Regions from separate parts of the Homo sapiens genome. Here region 1 is linked to region 2. Evidence: promoter capture Hi-C in 16 types of primary human blood cells and fetal thymus (Javierre and others, 2016). All regions are on one chromosome and are shown on one strand. Each heading gives the region's core, a stretch centred on a gene start or on the middle of the fragment in contact. The rest is flanking DNA. Distances are from core to core; before and after follow the strand shown. Region 1 overlaps NFATC3 (nuclear factor of activated T cells 3). Region 2 holds the start of ENKD1 (enkurin domain containing 1).

Region 1 (2,700 bases), core at 26-2,525, 430 kb before region 2:
TGTACTCTTCTCTGACCTCTCTACTCAGAGTTAATCTGTGTCATTATATGCTCAGAGGCCCTTCTCCGTACCTCTGTTATATTAATATTGTTGTAGTCATTTATATGTCTACTCCAATAGACTGAATTATATTTAATTTGTATTACCAGTATTTGGCACATAATAATACTGACACTTAACAAAACTTAATTAAAAGATTAAATGATTTAGTATATTTACCCACTTAATGGAAGAGGACTTTCTTGAGGTCCCTTCCAGCTCAGTTACTCTAAGATCTCATACAATGTTCCCCTCTGGTTACTACTTTCTCTTCTTCTACATATTCTTCTATTTTATCCTTTAACAACAGCTAGTTTCTTTCAGATGAGCCTTCGAAAGAATGAAACAAAGCACTTTAAAAAGAATTTTTAGCGTGGGCATGGTGGCTCACACCTGTAATCCCAGTACATTGGGAGGCCAAGGTGGGAGGACTGCTCAGGCCCAGGAGTTTGAGACTGGCCTGGGCAACACAGAAAGACTCCGTCTCTATCAAAAACAATTTTTAAAAATTAGCTGGGCATGGTGGCAAGCACCTGTGGTTTGAGCTACTTGGGAGGCTGAGTTAAGACTGCAGTGATCTATGATTGAGCCACTGAACTCCAGCCTGGGCAACAAAGTGAGACCCTGTCTCAAAATAAATTTTAAGAAATAAAATAAAATAAGCATTTAAAAAACACTTTACTATCTCAATTTTGACAAATCAGATTTGACACTGTCTTTATGCTTCTGTATGTCTGCATAATCATCAGGTTCCACCTGAACCACACAACAAAAATGAATTTTGTGTCCCAGATCTCCCACCCATCAAGACACCAACCCCACTGTTATTAATCCAGGATCAATAGCCATACTTCTCTTTCTTGGCACCTCTATCAACTCCCATGCCCATCCCCAAGGACTCTGACAAAGCAAAAGAAAAAGCAAGTGCCAGAGAAAGTAACTGCATAACAAAAGTCAGGTTTACATTATAAAGTCCCTCAACTGGCTGGGCACAGGGGCTCATGCCTATAATCCCAGCACTTTGGGAGGCCGAGGCAGGCGGATCACCTGAGGTAGGGAGTTCAAGACCAGCGTGTCCAACATGGTGAAACCCTGTCTCTACTAAGAATACAAAAATTAGCCAGGCACGGTGACACACATCTGTAATCCCAGCTACTTGGGAGGCATGAGGCAGGAAAATCACTTGAACCTGGGAGGTGGAAGTTGCAGTGAGCAGAGATTGTGCCACTGTGCTCCAGCCTAGGTGACAGAGTGAGACTCTGTCTCAAAAAAAAAAAAAAAAAAAAAAATTAGCTGGGCATGTGGTGCACACCTGTAATCCCAGCTACTTCAGCTACTTGAGAGGCTGAGGCATCACAATCACCTGAACCCAGGAGGCAGAGGTTGCACTCCAGCCTGGGAAATAGAGTGAGATTCTCTCTCAAAAAAAAAAAATTTTTTTTAAGTCCCTCAGTTGCTAGAATACTGTGGATAGTAAGCACAGACAATTCTTTTGGTTGACCCCCTCCCAGCATCCATTTTCTCTTTCTTCCTCCCTAACAGATTTTCTATCCTTCTATCCACTCCTCTCCCATGCAGCCTTGTGTTTTGGGGAAGCCAACCATATCCTCAGGCCAAGGCATAGGTCTGGTTGGCTAAGAATAATTCCACTCATCTTTACCAGTAACTAATTTAGGAAAGGGAATGTAACCCAGTTTTGGTCAATGAAACGCAAGGTTAAGTTTGCTGAAGGCTTCTGGAAAAGTCCTTCGTCACTCTTAAAAAGAAAAGAGCTGTGTGAAGCCAGCATCCGTGTCTCATTCCTTCCCCTCAGCAAATATCAATCCAAATGTAACTATTTTGCATATATTTAAACTAGAAGATTAAGAGTATTTTACTATTTATTTCAAATAGTAATCGGATGATTAAAAAGTCAACAGAAGTGCTAAAACCATGATCAGCCAACATTTACTAGGTAACATGTATGACAAAAGAGCTTTCTTGCCTTTGCTCTCAAAGGGAGAGTTCTGGTGAAACTCAGAGACAACTGGGTATGTACAAGAGAGAGAGAAAATCCAAAAGAGTACTGATCTTGAGAGAGAAGAATAAATGGCAGATGGCAAATTGGTCAAAATATCAAGGAAAAAAATGTGTATCAGTCCTAGTGGCTATAGAAGGTAGTTCTCCTTGCATCCTAAATTCAATCAAATAAATAGTACTCATTTTTTTTTTTTTGAACATGTGAAAGCAAAATGTTAACCTTGAAAAATGAAACTACCCTGACTATTGAGCATTTTTAAAATTCTGAATTTTTCCTCATTCAGGTTTAGGGCAATTTTGACGACAGATCTAAACGCTTTAAACTTTAAAAGCAAAACAGCCTGCAAGATGACAAATCAGACCCTAATCAAGACAACATGGGCGGAGAGGGGGGCTGCCAAAGACAAAGGCCAATTTCTCCTTAGAGTAAACTGCCTTAAAACCTAAAATGATATCACCTCTTGACCTCCAGATCCACAAAGCAGCAAAGAGAAAAGGCCCAAAAGAGCTAAATTTGGGTCTAGCACAGTTAGCGATATAGCGATACAGTACCCTCTATTGGTCTAACTGTATCACTGCTACCCTTTAAAATTTCCTAGAGCAGGCAGGAATAAGAAGCATCCCTCAAGTAGCTATTTTGAG
Region 2 (2,700 bases), core at 38-2,537:
GCCCCCAGGCTCTTGCGCTTCTTGGCTTTTTTGTGCTGTTTGGCAGATGGTGAGGGCTCACTCTGGCTGTCCTCTGGCTCCTCCTCCTGCAGCGGCAGCTTGGGTGGCAGCTCAGCTTCAGCCTTAAGATGGGCACGAAGGCCCGGGAGGCTGAGAGACCTGAGCCAGGGACAAGAGACTTGAGCCAGGCTCCAGCCCTGGCTCCCATTCCCTGGCCCAGGGAATAGCCCAGCCTGCCCACAGCCCCAGGGCTCGACGCCTGTCCCGTTCCTGGTCAATGAGACCCCAGGCCCAAGAGGCTTAGAGGCCAGTGAGCCCAGGCCCCTACAAGCCCTGAAGCTCCCACTCTCCTGCTGCTCCCTACACGGGGGCTCTTGAGGAACGGGAGGAGAGTGATGGTAGTGGCTGGGGACGAGAATCCTCCCTGCAGGAGTGCAGGATTTAGGAATCCTACTGTGGTGTGTGCCCCAACCCCGGGGCTGCAGCTCCTTCCCCCCGAGAGCCCCCTCACTTGACAGGCTTTCTCTTTGGACCATGACGGGGCCTCACAATGGAGACCACGGGCCTGGGGCCTCTCTCCTCTAGCGCCCCGGCATGCGGCTTGGGCCGCTCCTCCCCCAGCTTGGGTCCTTCCTCCTGGAGCTCCGACTCCGAAGCTGCGCCTGCTGGGCGCTGGTCTTCACTCTGGGTTCCGCGGGCCTCATGGGCAGGCACCAGGAACTGGTCTCCCGCCACTGGACACTAGAGATGACACACAGGCCATCGGTCACCATGGCCGGGCAAAGGACATAGGGATCCGTCACTGAACACCTAACGTTAGACACCGAAACGGGAATAAGGACACCAGCCTGTGCCCCTCCCCGCCTGGAGGGCCCAGCCTGGCAGTTAGCGGGTCGGGGCGCTCAGTTCCACCTCTCAGAGCGCTGCGGCCCTGTGTTTGAAGGTTAAACAGCCTGACGGTCACCTCGGAGGTCTGAGCGCTGCCGGGCTCCTCCGTGAGCTGTCCCTGCCCCACGACCGTCGCCTCCTGGACCCCCGGCCGCCTCTCCGCCCCTGCCGAGGCCATGGCTGCGCAGGCTGAGTGCGTCCTCGACAGCTGCTTGGGGCGGGCCCCAAGGGGCTGGATGGTGGCCCCGCGCTGACCCCGGAGACCGGCCAGCAAGCGAGGGCAGAGCTGGGAAGAGAAACCGGCGACCGCGGAGCCCACCCTCGGCCGAAACTACAAGCCCCAGGACGCTTTGCGCCGGGGTCAGTGGGCCCTGACCCCGGGGACGGAAGCCACGGTTGCCCGGCAACAACAAGTCCCGTCGGGTGGCAGCGGCTGGCGGCAAAACCTCTCGAGTGAGCCCCTGCCCGAGTGCCGCGGGGGAGAGGCCGCGAGCGGGACCGAGAAGTGGGCTGGGAGCAGAGGTCGCGGAGGTGGCGAGCGAGGCCGGGGCCCAGGCGGGGACCGGCAGGGGCCCGGGAGTGGCGGGCACGCCAGGGTCAGGGTGCCGGGCGAGGGAGGGGGCCCGGGGTTGGGGAAGGGGGCCCGGGGAGGGAGGTAAACAGCCCTGCAGGCCTCGGGGCACCGTTGCTGGGCGGCGCCGGCGGCATGTGCGAGGGCCCGTCCCGCATCTCGGGGCCCATCCCCCCAGACCCGACGCTCTGTCCTGACAACTACAGGCGGCCGACCTCGGGTGAGTCCGGGGGCTTGGCGGTGGTGCGAGGCTCAGGGGTCGGCCCTGGCTCCACCTCTGAGCCCCGGACTCCGCCCGGCTCCGCCCCACAGCTCAAGGGCGCCTCGAGGGAAACGCGCTGAAGCTGGACTTGCTGACTTCCGACCGGGCCCTGGACACCACCGCTCCCCGTGGCCCCTGCATCGGTCCCGGTGCCGGAGAGATCCTGGAGCGCGGCCAGCGCGGCGTCGGGGACGTGCTGTTGCAACTCGAGGGGATCTCCCTAGGTCCTGGGGCCTCTCTCAAGAGTAAGTCCCAGGAATGGAAGAAGGGACAGAGAGGCAGTGCGGGGTGGAAAGAGATCAAAAGCAGCTGCTCTTTCCACCCTGACGTGGGCCCAGGCTTTGCATCTCTTGAGTCTCAGTTTCCCCAACTATAAAAGGGGGAGAAATATGCTACCTTCTCGAAGGAGGTGAACTGAATGAGGTAGTTCCCACGAAGCCCTAGCTCTGCTTTATGCATTTGTTACCCATTAAATTTGTTTGTTGAGTGCCTACTGTGTGCCAGGCCATATAGATGCTAGAACACAGGGCTGAAGATAAGCATGAGCCATCACTGAGTCAAGGTGGGATACAAAGATCAAGAGATGAATGTCATATATGAGATGATCTATGGTGTACTTCAATGGTGTACTTCACTATAATAATGGAGGAAATCACCTGGGCGCAGTGGCTCACTCCTGGAATCCCAGCACTTTGGGAGGCCCAGGCGGGCAGATCACTTGAGTCCAGGAGTTGAAGACCAGCCTGGCCAACATGGTGAAACCCCATCTCTACAAAAAATACAAAAATCAGGCTGGCATGGTGGAGTGTGTCTGTAATCCCAGCTACTCGGCAGGCTGAGGTAGCCGGGGAGGTTGAGGCTACAGTGAGCTATGATCATGCCACTGTACTCCAGCCTGGGTGACAGAGTGAGACCCTGTCTCAAATAATAATAATAATAATAATAATGGAGAAAATCATCCTGTGATACTTACTACATG

Evidence for each region. Contacts are between HindIII fragments. The CHiCAGO score rates a contact against its expected background, and 5 or more counts as called.
Region 1: a contact is called between a fragment that was not itself captured here and the fragment with the promoter of ENKD1 in region 2, in 1 of 17 cell types (neutrophils). The highest score is 5.8, in neutrophils.

Annotation. Positions count from the first base shown.
Region 1 is chr16:68,093,976-68,096,675 of GRCh38, reverse strand. All of the region lies in intron 1 of NFATC3 (nuclear factor of activated T cells 3), which reads right to left. Among named protein-coding and RNA genes, the nearest start is that of NFATC3, 10 kb to the right of the region's middle. RefSeq lists a silencer at 2,596-2,700. The HindIII fragment of the contact is 6,898 bases long and covers 1-2,700 here.
Region 2 is chr16:67,665,337-67,668,036 of GRCh38, reverse strand. ENKD1 (enkurin domain containing 1) reads left to right here and starts at 1,287. Exons shown (of 7, transcript NM_032140.3): 1 at 1,287-1,679; 2 at 1,772-1,966. The coding sequence starts at 1,595. It overlaps C16orf86 (chromosome 16 open reading frame 86), which reads right to left and starts at 1,223. Exons shown (of 4, transcript NM_001012984.3): 1 at 965-1,223; 2 at 512-741; 3 at 1-159. The coding sequence starts at 1,066. RefSeq lists silencers at 856-905, 986-1,035, 1,056-1,105, 1,446-1,715. The HindIII fragment of the contact is 12,585 bases long and covers 1-2,700 here.